4 separate regions of the Homo sapiens genome follow, and all the other regions are linked to region 1. Evidence: promoter capture Hi-C in 16 types of primary human blood cells and fetal thymus (Javierre and others, 2016). All regions are on one chromosome and are shown on one strand. Each heading gives the region's core, a stretch centred on a gene start or on the middle of the fragment in contact. The rest is flanking DNA. Distances are from core to core; before and after follow the strand shown. Region 1 holds the start of TIMP3 (TIMP metallopeptidase inhibitor 3). Region 2 overlaps FBXO7 (F-box protein 7). Region 3 overlaps SYN3 (synapsin III). Region 4 overlaps BPIFC (BPI fold containing family C).

Region 1 (4,758 bases), core at 2,081-4,580:
GAAAATGGGCAAGTTCCTTCACTTCTCTGAACCTTATTTTTCCCACATTTAAAACAAGGATGAGTAGTTTCTGAGGTCCTTTTTACGACTTCTCTTCCTACAGACTCTAGCATCCTATAACTTGATACAAAGAGGGTGGATATGAACTCACCTTTCCTAGAAAAGTTCCAGGAAAGAGAATACCAGGTCATCCTAGTAGGTGTGTAGACAGGCCAGATAGATCTTGAAACTTACTCAGTTCTTCCCAGATGTATAACTCTATCATTGTTCTTAGCTGTCAAGAGAAAGCAGGAGAGCCTGCATCTTCATTCTTTTTTTTTTTTTTTTTTTTTTTGGAGACGGAGTCTCACTCCATCACCTAGGCTAGAGTGCAGTGGCATGATCTCAGCTCACTGCAAGCTCCGCCTCCCAGGTTCACGCCATTCTCCTGCCTCAGCCTCCCAAGTAACTGGGACTACAGGCGCCCACCACCACACCTGGCTAATTTTTTGTGTTGTTAGTACAGACGGGGTTTCACCATGTTAGCCAGGATGGTCTCGATCTCCTGACCTCGTGATCCGCCCACCTTGGCCTCTCAAAGTGCTGGGATTACAGGCGTGAGCCACCGCACCCAGCCTGCATCTTCATTCTTACTGTTAGCCTCAGGTTCACCCCACCTAGCTTATTAAGTGATGTTGAATAACCAATTCTTACATATTATTAGGCTCATGGACACCATGACATCCAGACTGATGGGTGCCTGCTGAAGGGGGTGACCCTAGCAGGAGGACTCCCCTACGCAAGGATTCATGGAGTTTGCTGTTTCTTTTCCTTAGGGTGAGAACCAAACTGCCTTCACACGGTGGGCAGAGGGGAACTGACTCAGGTTTGGAATAAGAGAGAACATCCCAACTGAAAAGCTCTTGGAATTCGCTGAACTTCAAGACACTGTGTGGACCAGCTTAGGATAGGGAGTGAGAAGAAATTAACCAAAAGGTAATTTCGTTACTTTTCAGCTGGAAAAAAGATCAGATTATACTTGTGCTTTCATAATTAAGTAGCTGCTGGAAAAAAACGCTTCAGATGCTTTCTATGAGAAAACTGCTGCTTGAAGTTCAGCAGAAGTTATCTACTTGATACTTATATTCCAGGCAAGGCCTTCCGTTGGAGAAAATATCGGCACTTTGGACAAAACTGAAATGTGAAAAGAAAGGGAAGAGAGGGCCTCTATCATGTAAGATGCTTATCCAAAGTGGATTTGGTCTGGAAAGTCTTCTAAAACCTTCCACATGACTGTGGAATAAGTCATGTGGGGCGCGGGGATAAGCGAATCTCTCAAATTCCACCACGTATGCCCTCATTCAACCTGGATCCTTAGAGTGGCCTCCAGGGCACTCTGCTCAGGACTCAGTCAGCTGTTGGCCACACCCATGCTCTCCAGTCTCCTGAGACCCTATTTGGTTCTGAGAGGGCTAAAAAGCAGTGTGGCTAAATATCCCAGGCCTCAAAGTATTCCTACTGTGGTTGGGGAAGCAATAGAATCATACCCCATAAAACAATGAAAACAGTGCTAGAAAAACATCGAGAGACAGAAACATCTCTACGAGTTAGGCCACAGTTAGAGTGAAGGCAGGGAAGGTTTTTAAAGCTGGGTGGAGGGGACAAGTCAAAAAGATGTGGAAACTGGTTTCCCTTTCCTATGGCTAAAGTGCTCAAAGGGGAAAAAGGAGTTTCAAAAATGTTCTTGGAAATACCATCTCTCACGAATTCTTCGGCCTCTGCTGTCCCAATGTCACTTGTCTGAGATGTAAACAGAGGAGTTCTGAGAAAGAAGCTGAACTTGCATTTCTCCCTGTTTCTATTTGTTCCAAACTTGTGGCATTTCTAACAGGATGAAGCGGAAGAGAAAGGGAAAGAGACAAAAGTGTAGAAAGATGGAAGATCCCAGCTGCAAATGGCCATTTGCAGTTAGATGGAACAGCTGCTGACGTTCAGGGAAATGCATGTCTCTCTTCAGATGGGAAGGAGCAGTGGAAAGGGGTGACGAGTTCCTGGCTGGCCACCAATCATCCCATCTTTCTGTGCCGGTTCCTCATCTGGAAAGTGGGAGTGATACTTGTGCTTGCTTTTCCTACCCACAAAGATTATTGTGAGAGCTATAATACGGTGAGATACAGAATCCTGCTTTTAAAAATACAAAGCAGAATCAAGATGTCAATAATAAGGATAGTAATTGTGTTAGTTATCTGCAATCATCTATTATAGCTAGTCGTCTAGGATCCTGGATCGTTCTCCTGGTTTTACTACAGTTTTGGATCAGCTCACCCCCAAATCCCTTGCTGAAGGGTGGAGCTCTGTCAGCCATGGGCAGGGAACCACTTCCTCTTGCCTTTCTACTTTCTGTCTTTCAAACATGCCCAGGGTCTTTGCACTTGCTGTTCCCCCTGCCTGGTACCTCTCTCCTGTGGCTTGCCCCAGAGCTGATCCTTGTCTTTGTCCACTTCTCAGCGAGGATGGCACTTCAGGGAGCCCTTCCCTTACTATCGCAGAGAGAGCAGGCCCTCCCCAGTCATGTCCAACCCAGAACTCTGTTTTGTTTTCTTCATAGCCCTAGCATCACAGAAAATCACCCTGTGCATTCATGGATGTCCACGGGGGCAAGGGCTTTGTGTTGCTTAACCCAGCATCCTGAACCGTGTTTGTTGAATGAATACAGAACCCCGTTTGCTCTGGGAGAGCACAGAAAACAGTCTTCTATCATATATCATAGCCAGCTGCAAACAGCAGATGGCTTCCCATATCCCAGAGAGTAAGAACCAGAGAGAGAGAGAAAGAGAGAGAGTTTGGGTCTTTCTCCTCTGTGCCTGCTCTCTCCAGAGAAACTGGAGGGGTAGCAGTTAGCATTCCCCCGCTGGTTCCACCAAGCACAGTCAAGGTCTCTAGGACATGGCCACCCCTCACCTGTGGAAGCGGTCCTGCTGGGGTGGGTGGGTGTTAGTTGGTTCTGGTTTGGGTCAGAGACACCCAGTGGCCCAGGTGGGCGTGGGGCCAGGGCGCAGACGAGAAGGGGCACGAGGGCTCCGCTCCGAGGACCCAGCGGCAAGCACCGGTCCCGGGCGCGCCCCAGCCCACCCACTCGCGTGCCCACGGCGGCATTATTCCCTATAAGGATCTGAACGATCCGGGGGCGGCCCCGCCCCGTTACCCCTTGCCCCCGGCCCCGCCCCCTTTTTGGAGGGCCGATGAGGTAATGCGGCTCTGCCATTGGTCTGAGGGGGCGGGCCCCAACAGCCCGAGGCGGGGTCCCCGGGGGCCCAGCGCTATATCACTCGGCCGCCCAGGCAGCGGCGCAGAGCGGGCAGCAGGCAGGCGGCGGGCGCTCAGACGGCTTCTCCTCCTCCTCTTGCTCCTCCAGCTCCTGCTCCTTCGCCGGGAGGCCGCCCGCCGAGTCCTGCGCCAGCGCCGAGGCAGCCTCGCTGCGCCCCATCCCGTCCCGCCGGGCACTCGGAGGGCAGCGCGCCGGAGGCCAAGGTTGCCCCGCACGGCCCGGCGGGCGAGCGAGCTCGGGCTGCAGCAGCCCCGCCGGCGGCGCGCACGGCAACTTTGGAGAGGCGAGCAGCAGCCCCGGCAGCGGCGGCAGCAGCGGCAATGACCCCTTGGCTCGGGCTCATCGTGCTCCTGGGCAGCTGGAGCCTGGGGGACTGGGGCGCCGAGGCGTGCACATGCTCGCCCAGCCACCCCCAGGACGCCTTCTGCAACTCCGACATCGGTAAGCGCTCCTGGTGCCCCGCCCGAGCCCCACGCTGCAGCCAGGACTGCAGCGCTGCTTAGGGAGGCAGGGCGAGCCCCACTCCTTTCCTCTGCCCCAGGAGAGGGGCAGACGGGGTTGGGGCGGAGTGGAGAAACTCGATGTCCTTGGGCGGGGGCGCTGGCATAGCTGAGAGGGGAAGATGCCCTGCAGAGGAAACTCACAGTGGCTGAGGGAGCCCCTGGCCGCCTTTGCTTTCCTAACTTAGGTCGTGAGGTTCCTACCGGTCCTTTTGACATCTGGAAAATGTCCCCATTCACTACTAACGGAGGAAGGGCTAGAAGAGAAGGGTGGGGAAAGGGTTCCCAAAACTTGGAATGCTAACTAAAGTGCTGGGAAATTGAATAGTTAAAAAAAAAAAAAAAAGTTGCCCGCCATGTGCACGGAAAGTTGCAGGAGAAACTTGGAGTACTCCGAGTCTGCATCATCTCCTGCGCCTATGAAATTCATTCTTTTCACTGAGACCCAACCCAGCTGCAGGCTTCCCAGGCAAGCGCTAACCGAGCTTCTGGGACTGCCAAGTTTGGGTGGATTTAAGGGGGAAAATGAGGAGAAAGCTGTGGCATTGACCCACGCCCTGGAGGCACTGTGTTTGAGAGTGTTGATAGCCAGCAGAAGGTGCGAGGGGTCACTCACCACATAGCTGTGAAAATTCACAGGAAGGCTATTTTTTTCCCCCTTGAATGTGTGTGGGGAGGGGGAGAATGGGTAGTGGAAAACAGATTTGTCACCAAAAGAACAAACCTGCCAAGGGTCACATCACGGTGACAGTTCCAGACTGGACTTAGTGTCTTGAGTAGAGAGACCCTGTAAAGAGACCTCCTACTCCTTAGTGTGTATGGAGGGCCCCGAGAGCATCCTGGGAGGCTTGTCTGGGAGTGTTTGGGACACTTGTGTTTGGATGGCTAAAGGTGGAGTGGCATCTGGGAAACATCTCTCTCCTCCTTTCCAGCCCATAAAGCGTGCAAGTC
Region 2 (5,405 bases), core at 1,493-3,992, 310 kb before region 1:
GAGGAAAAACTACAATCAAAATGTTTGTTTAAACCTATATAAATTTGATGGCTATTTTATACAGATTGATACTTTACCAAAGGTTTGCATTCTAGGTAAGGTTTTGCTTAAACTCTATAAAATTATTAATAGATACAAAGAAGACAGGTTTTCCCTTTTATCATTTTTCAGTTAAACCAAACTGTGAGAGGCAGTTATAGGTGGTTGGAGCAGAAGAGATAAGGTGGAGAGGGGAACTGACATTTTTTAAGTGCCTGTTTCATTCTGTACTTGTGCCTGTACATATGTTATTCCATTTAATCTTCTTAGTAAACTTAGGAGGGTTTTAAGAGCCTAGTGGGAATGTTGTGGTACAATGGGAAGATGGCATTTATAGCAGTCCTTTAGGAAAGGCTGGCTAGATTGACATTGTTGCTTTGAAGGCCTAAAGGCTTATTCTTGTTCATTCCTAGGGGAGATCAGCCCTGAGAGATTGACTTATACTAACTAAAACTGACAGGAAAAGGAGATAGCAGAATACATATTTATAACGGTCTCTGATTGGATGTAGAGTCAGAAATTGGGAATTAGCTGAATTGAATTTTTTTTTTGAGACGGAGTCTTGCTCTTTCGCCAGGCTGGAGTGCCGTGGCGCTATCTCGGCTCACTTCAACTTCCACCTCCTGGGTTCAAGCAATTCTTCTGCCTCAGCCTCCTGAGTAGATGGACTACAGGCGCACACCACCACGCCCAGCCAATTTTTTTTTATTTTTAGTAGAGACAGGGTATCACCATATTGGCCAGGCTGGTCTCGAACTCCTGACCTTGTGATCTGCCCGCCTCGGCCTCCCAAAGTGCTGGGATTACAGGCATGAGCCACTGCGCCCGACCGAGTTGAACATTTAATGTCAGACTAGGCCAGAGTTTCTCAATCTTTTTATTCTCACTTCCCAAAGGAGCCGTTGGAGATTTTCCCCTCAATCTCTCTCCTTCATGAAATTTCATACCACAAATATAGTATGTTTTATTTATGTACTGTGACCCTTTGAAGGATCACAAACCAATATAATAGTTTTTCTTTTTAACCCGTCAAGGACCAGTTTTTGCCCCTGTTGGAAATGCATAAACTGGACTGATGAATTGGTATAGATGGCTTTTATCATGAGGATCAGAAAAACTTGAAATTCCTTGGCTACGACACTCCATATTTATCACCGTATAGGGAGGACCTTGTTATGGGGAGTAGAAACACTCTACACTTTACAGCAGTAGAGGTTTTATGCCCATTTTATAGATCAGGAAACAGATCTAGAGGAGGCTCACTTACTTAAGGGTCACAGAGCCAATAAATGGTGAAATACAGGATAGGAATAGATTTGGCTGACTCCCAGCCTTTTAAAACAACTTTTACAGGAATGTAGCTCAGATTGTTATTCTTTATCTGGTTTCTCTTAAATAAAGAAAAATGAAATGGAAGGGAGGAGGAACATTAAATACTGTTAAATTACAAGTTTATGGACTGTTATAATGAAGTATTTTTAATAAAGTCTTATGTTGAGTAGGAATATGCTGCTCATTTGGCAAGTCATTTTAATGAATTTTTACTGTGGTTCATAGCACCTAGTAACTATAACTAGGCACTGTTATTTATCCTTTTATTTATAAGTTCCTAATTAAATAGTTACATACCAGGTTGCTGAAGGAAAACATTCATTTAAAGAAAATCAATTTTCACATTTGAAAAAAGCCCTTGAGCCAAATTGATTTTAAAGAATGATATCTTGACAGCAAATTTCAACTCAAGATTGCAAGTCACACAACAAAGATTTAGACATTAGCTGCATATCTCTTTCCTTCTTCTTATCGATCCTGTTATACTGAGTGTTTTATTTGTTATAGATAGTGAAATACATAAATATGAAATGGGGAAGGAGCAAGCATAAATTGCCTACTGATACCCTAGGCACTGCTCGTGGAGCTTTCAATTATAACAACGCTTATCTGGTGTAGTGGTGGTGTCTCCTTTAAACAGTTGAGCAAAAAGGTGAGGATCAGAGGGGCAGGTTATTTGTCCAAGGCTATACACTTGGTAAATAGCAAAACAAGTGGGAACCTCGGCTGCAGTTTGCTAGTGCGTCCGTACTTTACTATGAGTCACCTGGGGATCTTATTAAAATATAGGTTCTGATTTGGTAGGTCTGTGGGGGCCTGAGATTCAGTAGTTCTAAACAGTTCCAGGTATTGTCAGTTCTGGTGATCTGTCGCCCACATGTTGAGTAGCAGTGTGGTGACTAAAAATGAGTGCTTTTGAGCCACACGGACTTGGGTTTGTGCACTGTTCTGCCACTAACCATGGGGCCTTGGACAGGCTTTCTGTACCTTGACCTGTTTTTAAAATGGAGATAGTAATTAGGAAAGAACTTCTGATGTGAAAGCTTGAAAAACGCTTGACACAGGTGCTGATACATAGTCATCATGCGATAAATGCTATTAATTTACCAGGTTCTAAGCGTTAACAGGAGCAGTTCTCCACTGTATCCTTAGTGCCCAGAACAGATTGATAGCTATCAGGAAATCTTCGTATGTATGAATCTCTCACAAGTCTTTTCTACAACTGCAGCCTATGAGCTAGAGAGGTTGGGCACAGCTCTACTAATTTGATATCATGGAATTTTTAGCTTTTATATCTAAGATTCAGTTTCATCAAGTCTTGCACTGTACTTCTTCCATGAGGGAATTTGGTTCATGCTTATCTTTGTGAATTATTTGTGAATATTTATTCACCATGTTGATTGGGTTTGGCAGAAATAGAGGACAGTTTTTTCACTTGATTTTGGGTTTTGATTTTACTTTAAAAAATATTCTAGGGGAAAATGTAGCCAACATATACAAAGATCTTCAGAAACTCTCTCGCCTCTTTAAAGACCAGCTGGTGTATCCTCTTCTGGCTTTTACCCGACAAGGTAAGAGATGAAATACTGTCACAATTTAAATGACTGTAAAGAATAGTAAGTATACTTAATATTCTTGGTGAGTATGACATCTGACTGCCCTCTTTTCTGCTCCTGGCGAAATGTTCCTCTTCTAAGACTAAGCTTAATATTCCTTAAGTGCTATTTACTTTATCTTTGTATCTCCATGCCATTTTGTACATATTTTTATTGTAGTCTCTTTTCCATGGACTATAATTGTTGATATGATTTCTTTCCACCTAAGGTTGGGAATACCTTGAAGGTAGGGAATATATCTTACTTTTGTATTCTTGTGGTCTAGCATGAGGTCAGGTACATAATAGATGCTCTTTCTCTCTGTGTAGATACATATATATATGTCTATATAGACATATATTTAGATATATATGTCTATATAGACATATATTTAGATATATATGTCTATATAGACATATATAAATAATACATGGTCTGTAATTGGATCTAAGTTTTTTTTTTTAAACCATTTATTGGAGGCTCTTTGCAGGCACTTAGTTGGATATTTCACATGCATTCTTATTTACTGCTAATGACTTCGAAGTAAATTATGTGGTACTTATTTTATAGATGATGAAATCATAATTCAATAAGGTTTATAATTCACTCGAGATCCTTATATTAGCTTCTCATTTTTTTGCAGTTAAAAAAATTAAAATCTCAGTGTCTTACAGTGAAATTTACTTCTCACTCGTGTACATGTTGTGTGTGGGTTTGCTTTGGCTGAAGGAGTTGTCTTTATCCAGGACATGCTCCTCTTGTAGTAGAAGGAAAGGAGTGCCAGTGGCCCAATTATGTGTTGGTTCAACGCTTTTGCCCAGAAATTATATATGTCACTTCCACTCACGTTTTGTCAGAAAAAATAAGACAAAAATGGCCAAGCCTGATGGTGGTGGGATGGGGAAGTATAATTATGCGTAGGAAGTGATTGAGAACCATAATACAATCTACCACAATTCTCCAACTAGTAGGTAGTTTGACTTATATGAATAGATAGTGGCTTTTATTTGCTCTCTATATGTAGAGAAATAAGTAAAACGTTTTTGGTGTCAAGTTGAATGGTGGCATGTCTATTATTACAGTAGTCTTCTCTGTAGTTGGTGATAAGGGAAAGGGAGTAATGCCAATTGAAAAACATGTAGATATGTCTGTTGGATTTTGATTATTTTTGCTAGTGGAGAATAGTATCACAAATATTTTGAAGGTGCTAATAACCAAAACATAATTTTCATTGAACTTGGGACATATTATTTTTCCTTTCCTTTCTTGGCTTTGTTTCTGAATTTATCTATCTCTTTTTAGCCTGCTAGACTTCAGATAATAGTAATTTGCTAACACTTGAGTGCTTATGCTTGGTGTGCCAAACATTGTTCTAAGCACTTAATATGTGTTAATACATTTACTTCTCACAACTCATTGAAGTAGGTGGAATGTAATATTAATCCATTTTACAGATGAAATTAAGATAGCATTTAAATAACTTGTCCAAAGGCACACAGTTAATAACTGGCATGGAAACAGATATAAAAGCCAGTGAATTATTCATTTTCTGTAGTTGAATGAAGAAATTTTGTTGTATTGAATAATGTTTGAGACAGAAGAGACCATTGGCTAGTATTTAGCAATTATCATAGTTATTTGATTTATATTAAAAAGCATTTGTCTTTCCACTAAAACATAAAGGGAATAAGGGCCTAGAGTTATATGAGTTAATAGTAATTATAGTCAAGCTGGGGTTAAAAATTTGTTGTAGATGATGCATACTTGGGGATAATTAAGAGTACCATCTAATTTTCTGTCACTTTAGAAAGGAACAAGTGGCAACTTTGTTGACTATGTGGAGAAAGCCAGATGTTCTTTACTCAGTAATACCTGTTACTTCTCTTTTTTTCCTTTTAGCACTGAACCTACCAGATGTATTTGGGTTGGTCGTCCTCCCATTGGAACTGAAACTACGGATCTTCCGACTTCTGGATGTTCGTTCCGTCTTGTCTTTGTCTGCGGTTTGTCGTGACCTCTTTACTGCTTCAAATGACCCACTCCTGTGGAGGTTTTTATATCTGCGTGATTTTCGAGGTGATTTCCGTAATGACATATTCACAAGAAAGGGCTCTTATTGTCTTGATTACTCAGCTCACCAAAAGTTTTTAGTTGTAGGATTTTTCTGTTGCAAATGATTACAATAAATAGCCTTAAAGAGACTGACTCTAAGCTTCATATACCTGTGCCTGTGTCCCTAAAACTCTCTCATTTTTGTGTTTTGCACAACACAAATCACTCATTAGACTAAGAAGATTATTTCAGGATAGAGAAATGGAAGTAAAACAGGCTTATTTTCTCACTAGAGACCATAGTCAGTATCTGACGTAGAAACGAGCTGGCATTTCTGAACTGCTTTCATGGTTGAGACCAATGTGTAAGTTAGGAGAGTTTTGTTGA
Region 3 (4,771 bases), core at 536-3,035, 290 kb before region 1:
TGGGTATTGACGGCCAGGCTTCTAAACCTCTTAAAACTCCCCAACTCTGGTGCCAACTTAGACAATACTCTTTTAAGCACTCCTTTTTAGTTATCCCCACCTGCCCAGTTCCCTTATTAGGCTGAGACACTTTAACTAAATTATCTGCTTCCCTGACTATTCCTGGACTACATCTATATCTCATTGCCGCCCTTCTTCCCAATCCAAAGCCTCCTTTGCGTCCTCCTCTTGTATCCCCCCACCTTAGCCCACAAGTATAAGATACCTCTACTCCCTCCTTGGCGACCGATCGTGCACCCCTTACCATCTCATTAAAACCTAATCACCCTTACCCCACTCAACGCCAATATCCCATCCCGCAGCACGCTTTAAAAGGATTAAAGCCTGTTATCACTCGCCTGCTACAGCATGGCCTTTTAAAGCCTATAAACTCTCCTTACAATTCCCCTATTTTACCTGTCCTAAAACCAGACAAGCCTTACAAGTTAGTTCAGGATCTGCACCGTATCAACCAAATTGTTTTGCCTATCCCCCCTGTGGGGCCCAACCCGTACACTCTTTTGTCCTCAATACCTCCCTCCACAACTCACTATTCCGTGCTTGATCGTAAAGATGCTTTCTTCACTATTCCCCTGCACCCCTCGTCCCAGCCTCTCTTTGCTTTCACTTAGACTGACCCTGACACCCATTAGGCTCAGCAAATTACCTAGGCTGTACTACTGCAAGACTTCATAGACAGCCCCCATTACTTCAGTCAAGCCCAAATTTCATCCTCATCTGTTACCTATCTCGGCATAATTCTCATAAAAACACACGTGCTTTCCCTGCTGATCGTGTCCGATTAATCTCCCAAACCTCAATCCCTTACAAAATAACAACTCCTTTCCTTCCTAGGCATGGTTAGTGCGGTCAGAATTCTTACACAAGAGCCAGGACTGCGTCCTGCAGCCTTTCTGTCCAAACAACTTGACCTTACTGTTTTAGCCTAGCCCTCATGTCTGCGTGCAGCGGCTGCCGCTGCTTTAATACTTTTAGAGGCCCTAAAAATCACAAACTATGCTCAACTCACTCTCTACATTTCTCATAACTTCCAAAATCTATTTTCTTCCTCATACCTGACGCATATACTTTCTGCTCCCCGGCTCCTTCAGCTGTACTCACTCTTTGTTAAGTCCCACAATTACCATTGTTCCTGGCCGGGACTTCAATCTGGCCTCCCACATTATTCCTGATACCACACCTGACCCCCATGACTGTATCTCTCTGATCCACCTGATACTCACCCCATTTCCCCATATTTCCTTCTTTCCTGTTCCTCACCCTGATCACGCTTGATTTTTTGATGGCAGTTCCACCAGGCCTAATCGCCACACACCAGCAAAGCCAGGCTATGCTATAGTACAAGCCACTAGCCCACCTCTCAGAACCTCTCATTTCCTTTCCATCGTGGAAATCTATCCTCAAGGAAATAACTTCTCAGTGTTTCATCTGCTATTCTACTACTCCTCAGGGATTATTCAGGCCCCCTCCCTTCCCTACACATCAAGCTCCAGGATTTGCCCCCACCCAGGACTGGCAAATTAGCTTTACTCAACATGCCCGAGTCAGGAAACTAAAATACCTCTTAGTCTAAATAGACACTTTCACTGAATAAGTAAAGGCGTTTCCTACAGGGTCTGAGAAGGCCACCACAGTCATTTCTTCCCTTCTGTCAGACATAATTCCTCAGTTTAGCCTTCCCACCTCTATACAGTCTGATAGCAGACCAGCCTTTATTAGTCAAATCAGCCAATTAGTTTTTCAGGCTCTTAGTATTCAGTGAAACCTTTATATCCCTTACGGTCCTCTATCTTCAAGAAAAGTAGAACGGACTAAAGGTCTTTTAAAAACACACCTCACCAAGCTCAGCCACCAACTTAAAAAGGACTGGACAATACTTTTACCACTTTCGCTTCTCAGAATTCAGGCCTGTCCTCAGAATGCTACAAGGTACAGCCCATTTAAGCTCCTGTATAGATGCTCCTTTTTATTAGGCCCCAGTCTCATTCCAGACACCAGACCAACTTAGACTGTGCCCCCAAAAAAAACTTGTCATCCCTACTATCTTCTGTCTAGTCATACTCCTATTCTCCGTTCTCAACTACTCATACATGCCCTGCTCTTGTTTACACTGCCAGTTTACACTGTTTCTCCAAGCCATCACAGCTGATATCTCCTCGTGCTATCCCCAAACTGCCACTTTTAACTCTTGAAGTAAATAAATAATCTTTGCTGGCAGGACTATGCTGAATCTCCTTAGGCACTCTCTAATCAGATGTCCTAGGTCCTCCCAATTCTTAGACCTTTTATACCTGTTTTTCTCCTTCTTATTCCATTTAGTTTTTCAATTCATACAAAACCATATCCAGGCCGTCACCAATCATTCTACACAACAAATGTTTCTTCTAACATCCCCACAATATCACCCCTTACCACGAGACCTCCCTTCAGCTTAATCTCTCCCACTCTAGGTTCCCACGCCGCCCCTAATCCCACTCGAAGCAGCCCTGAGAAACATCGCCCATTCTCTCTCCATACCACCCCCCAAAAATTTTCGTCGCCCCAACACTTCAACACTATTTTGTTTTATTTTTCTTATTAATATAAGAAGGCAGGAATGTCAGGCCTCTGAGCCCAAGCCAAGCCATCGCATCCCCTGTGACTTGCGCGTATACGCCCAGATGGCCTGAAGTAACTGAAGAATCACAAAAGAAGTGAAAAGGCCCTGCCCCGCCTTAACTGATGACATTCCACCATTGTGATTTGTTCCTGCCCCACCTTAACTGAGTGATTAACCCTGTAAATTTCCTTCTTCTGGCTCAGAAGCTCCCGCACTGAGCACCTTGTGACCCCCGCCCCTGCCCACCAGAGAACAACCCCCTTTGCATGTAATTTTCCATTACCTTCCCAAATCCTATAAAACGGCCCCATCCCTACTCCCTTTGCTGACTCTCTTTTCGGACTCATCCGGCCTGCACCCAGGTGAAATAAACAGCCATGTTGCTCACACAAAGCCTGTTTAGTGGTCTCTTCACACAGACGCGCATGAAAGGGGCCCCAAGGAGAGGTCTCATGTTCTCATTCTGCCTCCTCCCATTCCTCTTCAGATTCAGTTTGGAAGAGGTCTTTTTGAGGTTGAAAACCTGCCATTGATCTTCTTCCGCTTCTTTTCTCTATCTCATTTTACTGGGTTTTGGTTTGTTTGATTCTGTTCCTGGGCAAGTGACTTCCATATATTGATACTCTTAGAAAAACATCTTTTTACTTCAATCTTAATACTTTTGTTTGGATTTTATTTCATAGTTTTCTAGGAGGGCTGAGCTAAAACATGTCCTGAACACCTGCTGGGTGCCAAGCAATGTGCTCTGAGCTTCACTCTCTTGACCCATGCACAAGATACCTGCACTAGCTTGCCAGATGAGAACTTCCAGAAGGCAGTTGATGTTCAGTTTTATGGGGTTTGCTGCTGTGTTTGTTACCATGTGAGTGAAGACCTATCATCCCCTTAAATTTTGGAAAGATAGAATTGAGTGTTAGTTCTATCTTGAATGTATCTGAATATTAGTTAATTCAGCAGGGACGGAATGTTAGGCTAGAGAATGTAGTAATGAAGAGAATCTAGGGAACTGATGGAAGAGAAAGGATATGCCACTGTTCCTGGAAAGCTGATTTTACATTTAACCAAAGTACGGTACCATTTTATCGCGCTGACGGGAGGAAGATCTGGAAGAACTTTTCTGTGGCTGGTAGAGCTGTCCGCTAAGGCTGCGTTTTTAAATCCCTGTTCATTGTGAACAAATCAAATAGGTCTTTGTTGTGTTTCAGCTTCCCCGAGTCAGCTTGGAGGGAAAATGCTAGCCTCTCTCTGGCTCAAAGTTGTGAAACAAAGCAAGAAAAACAACAAACATAACATTTTAGAGTCTATACAGCATGACTCCCCTCTCCCTCCTTTTTGCCCTTTCCCATTTCAAAATGTCACAATTATTAAAGGTTACATGTTTGGAAGGAACAGGTACTAGTCTATGTGACAGAACAGACTATTTTAGGGTCGCCATGAGACCTATGTGTCCTTGGTTCCTATGTTCATACACAGACCAATGGGGAAAGTATTATTATTATTATTATTATTATTTTGAGACAGAGTCTCACTCTGTTGCCCAGGCTGGAGTGCAGTGGTGCGATCTCGGCTCACTGCAAGCTCCGCCTCCCGGGTTCACGCCATTCTCCTGCCTCAGCCTCCCTAGTAGCTGGGACTACAGGCGCCCGCTACCACGCCCGGCTAATTTTTTATATTTTTAGTAGAGATGGGGTTTCACCGTGTTAGCCAGGATGGTCTCGATCTCCTGACCTAGTCATCCGCCCACCTCGGCCTCCCAAAGTGCTGGGATTACTGATGTGAGCCACTGCGCCTGGCCCCAGTGGGGAAATTATTTAAATGTGTTGGCTATAAACTAGTGTTATGTCATGGATCTGGATATATGAGTATGGTTATAAAAATCAGGATGCCTGGCCTGATTTGGAGCTTGGAAGGAGGTTCTGCGGCTGTTGTACACAGATACTGGAGTATCTGGGAGATATCCTTTGGATGCTGAGGTGTGTCTGAGGCCAAAGGACAGAATATAGGAATATGGGAGAATTTAGGCCATGTGGTCATTGTTCACGGGGCCACTAGTTTCACTCACTAAAGGAGTGGGTTCGTAGCTGCGTTGGAGACTGCAGCACACCCGTAGCA
Region 4 (5,295 bases), core at 1,677-4,176, 380 kb before region 1:
CCATTTTTTTAGCTGTTCAATCGTTGCAGATAAGGGAAGCATTAGCTAAGAAAGCTATCTGATGTGAAAGGTACAGTATAATTGTTAGTAACCCCATTTCTGCCTCTTCTTAACTCTGTAGATTTACTTAATCTCTCTGGATCTTAATTTTCTCAACTATGAAATATGAATAAGAATATGTGAAATGACTATAGTTAACAATAATATATTGTGTAGTTTCAAATAGCTAGAGGGAAGATAGAACAGCCTCAACACAAATAAATGACAAATGTTTGAGATAATAGACACGCTAATTGCCTTGATCTGATCACTATACATTGATACACATTGAAACATCACTAGGTACTCCATGAATGTAAAATTACGATATGTCCATTAAACAATACAATTAAAAAAGAACAATACCTGCCTCGCAGGGCTGTAGTGAAAATTGAATGAAATGATGCACATAAAATGCTTAGAACTGTGCCTAGCATATCCTTATCACTCTGAATATGAGCCATTTTTATTAGGAAGAGAAATGCTAACAGTTATAACAGCACATAATGTCCTTGATGTTCTTTTTCAAATATCAACAGAGCACTTGCTGTAGGTCCAAGTAGAAGGGAGTCCTCCTCCCTGACCCCTCTCCCAGCTTGGTAAGGCTGAGTGACAGCGTGTCCTGTTGCTTGATATTTTATGGGAATTTTCATAAGAAAACTCAAGGTCAACGTTGTCTGTTTCCCAATTTTGCCAAGAGCTGATCCATAAGTAGTCCTCCCAATATACACAGTTGATTTTTCTATGCAATAATAATGATACTATGAAGAAATAGTAATGAATAGAGAAGACTCCTTCATTTTGCAGAGGGAGAAACTGAAGGTCAAAGAGGAGAAATATTAACGGCAGATTTGTTACTGGGACTCAGATCTCCTGATGCCCATCCCAGAGCTCTCTTTTTCGTATCTTGCTTTTCCTCTTAGCTTTCTATGGCTCACTTTTGCCCAGGTCTAGAGCCCTACTTCTGCATCAGCCTTCTAACAAATCTCCCTGTTTCCACTATTGACCCTTTCCAATCCATCTTCTACACCATCCCCAGGGGAAGCTACGTTACAGGCATGTCTGATAGAGATACTCTCCTGATCAAAATTCTTGTATTCCTAGGATTGAGTACAGAGGTACTTAATGTTCACTTATTCATTGATTGGGTCATCCAGCAAATATTTATTATGTGTCAGCACTGGGACAGGTGCTAGAGATAGCAGCCTTGTGAGCAAAACTAGACACAACCACTGTTCTCATGTAGCTTACCACCTAGTGGGGTGGCAATCATTAATCAAATCATCCCACTAATTAAGGTTTAATTACAATTGAGATAAATGCTCTTAAGGAAAGAAACAATTTCGTGGAGTCAAAATACAAAGAGGAACTTGATTTCATTTGGTAGATGTAGGAAGGTTTCCAGGGGAGGGCTGCTTGAGCTGAAATATGAAGGATGAATAAGATTCAAAAGGCAGAATGGGGAACGGAGTGGGGAGGGTTCCAGGCAGGGGTTGCAAAAGCCCCACGGAGGGAACTGAGAGCTGGGAGAGCACAGCAGGGCGATGCGAGAGGCAGACAGGATTGACTAGGCTCAGTGCCTCTGGCTGTGTTACGATTTTCATTTTTTATCCTCAGAGCAAGAAATCCAATGAAGGTTTTTTAAGAAAGGAGATGATGTCTGTGTTTTATAAAGATCACTCTGGCTGCAGCATGGAGAAAAGAACAGCAGGCCAACAGGTTACCCAGGTGCTCATTCTGTGCTCAGGAATGTGCGAGGCAATGTGAAGAATTTAACCTCTACCTATAATTATGAGGGATGGAGAGAAGTCGTTTGTAGAAGGTAGAGAACAACACAAAGCAAGGTATACTCAGGTGCTTCTTCATGGGTTTACACACCATACAGACTTGCTGCAGAGACTCTAAAAAGGGTGTGAAGCTGGGCGCGGTGGCTCACACCTGTAATCCCAGCACTTTGGGAGGCTGAGACGGGTGGATCACCTGAAGTCAGGAGTTCGAGACCAGCCTGGCCAACATAGCAAAACCCCATCTCTACTAAAATTACAAAAATTAGCCAGGCATGGTGGCACGTGCCAGTAATCCCCAGCTACTCGGGAGGCAGAGGCAGGAGAATTGCTTAAAACTGGGAGGCAGGGGTTGCAGTGAGCCAAGATCATACCGCTGCATTTCAGTCTGGGCGACAGAGCAAGACTACGTTTTGAAAAAAAAAAGAGAGTGCGAAAAGATGAAGAAACCAGCGTAGGCTAGAGTTGTGTGTGTGTATGTGTGTGTGTGAGCATGCATGTGTATGTGATATGGGGCATATCATGGGGGGAAAACAAGTTTCCCTTTGAGAGAAGACTCTGTACACATCTCTAGCATGTCCTTGGCACCCAGTACTGTTTCTCCCACCAGGCTGTGGACTGGGAAAATAGAAACCATTGTCCTTCTGTGTTAAAAACAGTGCAAAGCACATAATAGGTTCTCAGTAAATTCTTACTGAATGGATGTGTGGATAAATGAGCGGATGAAGGACATGGGTTGGGGAGTGTTTGTTGGAATTGGGGTCACTTTGAAGGTGAGCCAGTCTAAAGCAGAATGTTCATTTTAGTGAGCTTAGGAAGATAAGGTTGGCCGGCTTGAGAAGTAGGACCAGTGGATGAAGAGCTTGAAAACCTCAGACGGTGGATTTAATCCAATGATGAAAAGTTTTAAAGGGAAGAATGTGTTGAACCCATTCCACTATTAAAGGACCCTTTTGATGAGTAAGAGTTATCCAATGTTTGAATTTCATTGTTTCCTGCAGCCTGGAAATTCTGGAAGAAGCTTCCATTTGGGGTTTCCTCCTCTGGCAGGGGCTACCCCACTGTGGCATTCTTCTGCCATGGCTTCAAGAGTAGTTCAGAGGAAGGGTGGAGTTGGGGGGGTCAGCCCAGGTGCCAAGTCTGAGCTCCACTGACTTGTCCATCATTGGGAATTGTTTATATGCCCAAGCTTGAGGAGTAGAGTTAGGTAGTGATTCCATCTGCTTGTAGTCAGCTATATTTGCATTCTCTCGCTATGTTGCTTGGGAGGAGTTGTAGGGTGTGGGTGTGTGTGTGTGTGTGTGTGTGTGTGTGTTGTGGATGTGTGTTGATGGTGGAGTTCAATTTGGAGTGTCCAAAGTCTCAATCAATGCAATGTCAAAAAAAAAACAAAAAAACCTCCTAAGTTATAGATGGCTCAACAGTAACGTACATCTGATTGCCTTGAGCTTTGCATGGGATTAAGAAAAGAGGGTTAGAATTAAGTGATCTGGATGAAGACCAAAAAAGGGAAAGTGTCATTTAACTTGGCCTCTGAAGTAATCTAAAATATGTCTACTATGTGGGCCAAACTGTACTGAGGTTGCCTCCAAAGAGAAGTATGTTTGGAACAACTCTCAATTGTAAATAGAGCAGTGAGTCTGGTTTAAAACTCCACAGCTTTAAAAACCATCCTGACTTGTCATGTCTCTTGGGATCAGTTTCTCCCTGTTATTTGGTCAAAATTTGATCTTAGAATGGGGAAAAAGAATGAAATACTAGTACTACTAGGAACAAATATTTCTGGATCAATGACTATATGCTGACTGTTGTGCTAAGTGATTTACATACATTATCTCATCCACCCATACAACAACCCTATGGAGGGGTGTTCTGTTTTGCTAATGAGGAAACTGATACTTAACGAGGTTAAGTAACTTGCTTAAGGTCACTAGGTAGCAAGTGGCAGAGGTAGAATTCAAATCCAGATATGCCTGACTCCAGAGACTGTGCTCTTAACTAGACATGCTCAAAGAGTTCAAGTGTATTATTAGAATTGCTAGTTTTTTACTTTCTTCACCATTTTCTCCCCTTGATTCCTTGATGCGGTGACAAAAGTGCTGTGTGTTTTTTTCTATTTCAGCACAACCAGTTCCAGTGTTTTCTCTTTCTTTTATCAATGCTGAATATTGAAAAAGGGCATGCTGCCTGTTTCAACTTAGCGTGACTCCATGCTTATGGGTTTCCTCTTCCAGGCAAGGGTATAAAGGTATTTATTTCCTAAATCTTAAGTGTTATTTTCTTTCTTCTTCTTCTTCTTCTTCTTCTTCTCCTCCTCCTCCTCCTCCTCCTCCTCCTCTTCTTCTTCTTCTCTTCTTCTTCTTCTTCTTCTTCTTCTTCTTCTTCTTCTTCTTCTTCTTCCTCTTCTTCTTCCTCTTCTTCTTCCTCTTCTTCTTCCTCTTCTTCTTCCTCTTCTTCTTCCTCTTCTTCTTCTTCTTCTTCTTCTTCTTCTTCTTCCTTTTTTTTTGAGACGGAGTTTTGCTCTTGTCGCCCAGGCTAGAGTGCAGTGGTGTGATCTCGGCTCACTGCAACCTCCGCTTCCTGCATTCAAGCGATTCTCCTGCCTCAGCCTCCAGAGTAGCTGGGATTACAGGCATGCACCACCATGCCCAGCTAATTTTTGTATTATTAGTAGAGATGGAGTTTCACCATGTTGGCCAGGCTGGTCTCGAACTCCTGACCTCAGATGATTCACCTGCCTCGGCCTCCCAAAGTGCTGAGATTATAGGCGTGAGCCACCACGCCTGGCCTTGCCTTATTTTCTAAGTCAAAGCTCTTCACTACATCAAAGGCAGTATACTGTGGTAAGTAAATACTCACTGCTTTGAAAGCGGACTCACCCAGGTTCAAGTTCTGGCTCAGCCATTCAATAGCTCTGTGACCTTCAGTAAGTTATTTAATCTCTACAAACTGTAAAATGGGGATAATAGTACCTACCTCTAGGACCGTTCATTTAATCTACTGACATTTATTGAGCACTGTGCCAGGCCCTGGAGACACAGAGTTGTAAGATTTAAAATGAAATAATAGAGGTGTTGGGCTTGGCACAGGACCTAGTAGATGACAAAGATCCAATAATAAACAATAGCCATGAATTATACAAAAAAGGACTATTTCTTAGCTATCCATGGGCAGGATACAGGGGAGCGAAGTGTATTCTGAATCAGGGGACTCTGGAAATGATCTTGTACGATTGAGCACCTCCTTGTCCTGGCTGAGGCTATCTCTAAATTTGAAATCATAGTCAAAGCCAACAGCTAAGAAATAGTCTTTTTTTGGTACAGTTCATGACTATTCTTTATTATTGGGCCTTTACCGTCTATTAGGTCCCGTGCCAAGCCCGGTGCCTCTGTCATTTCATTTAAACCTTACAACTCCGTGTCTCCAGGGCCTGGAACAGTGCACAATAATGGTCAATAGATTAAATGAATGG

What was found. The method cuts DNA at HindIII sites, captures the fragments that hold promoters and counts their contacts. A CHiCAGO score of 5 or more calls a contact.
Region 2: a fragment that was not itself captured here is called in contact with the fragment with the promoter of TIMP3 in region 1 in 5 of 17 cell types (megakaryocytes, erythroblasts, M1 macrophages and 2 more); the score reaches 10.7 in megakaryocytes.
Region 3: a fragment that was not itself captured here is called in contact with the fragment with the promoter of TIMP3 in region 1 in 1 of 17 cell types (M1 macrophages); the score reaches 5.4 in M1 macrophages.
Region 4: a contact is called between a fragment that was not itself captured here and the fragment with the promoter of TIMP3 in region 1, in 1 of 17 cell types (M1 macrophages). The highest score is 5.7, in M1 macrophages.

Annotation. Positions count from the first base shown.
Region 1 is chr22:32,798,375-32,803,132 of GRCh38, forward strand. TIMP3 (TIMP metallopeptidase inhibitor 3) reads left to right here and starts at 3,331. Exons shown (of 5, transcript NM_000362.5): 1 at 3,331-3,748. The coding sequence starts at 3,628. All of the region lies in intron 6 of SYN3 (synapsin III), which reads right to left. The HindIII fragment of the contact is 16,798 bases long and covers 1-4,758 here.
Region 2 is chr22:32,488,240-32,493,644 of GRCh38, forward strand. It overlaps FBXO7 (F-box protein 7), which reads left to right. Exons shown (of 9, transcript NM_012179.4): 6 at 2,847-2,942; 7 at 4,866-5,042. Among named protein-coding and RNA genes, the nearest start is that of FBXO7, 16 kb to the left of the region's middle. RefSeq lists an enhancer at 567-736. The HindIII fragment of the contact is 660 bases long and covers 2,413-3,072 here.
Region 3 is chr22:32,505,414-32,510,184 of GRCh38, forward strand. SYN3 (synapsin III) reads right to left here. Exons shown (of 14, transcript NM_003490.4): 14 at 2,407-4,771. Among named protein-coding and RNA genes, the nearest start is that of FBXO7, 33 kb to the left of the region's middle. The HindIII fragment of the contact is 6,268 bases long and covers 1-4,771 here.
Region 4 is chr22:32,420,470-32,425,764 of GRCh38, forward strand. All of the region lies in intron 13 of BPIFC (BPI fold containing family C), which reads right to left. Among named protein-coding and RNA genes, the nearest start is that of RTCB, 11 kb to the left of the region's middle. The HindIII fragment of the contact is 168 bases long and covers 2,843-3,010 here.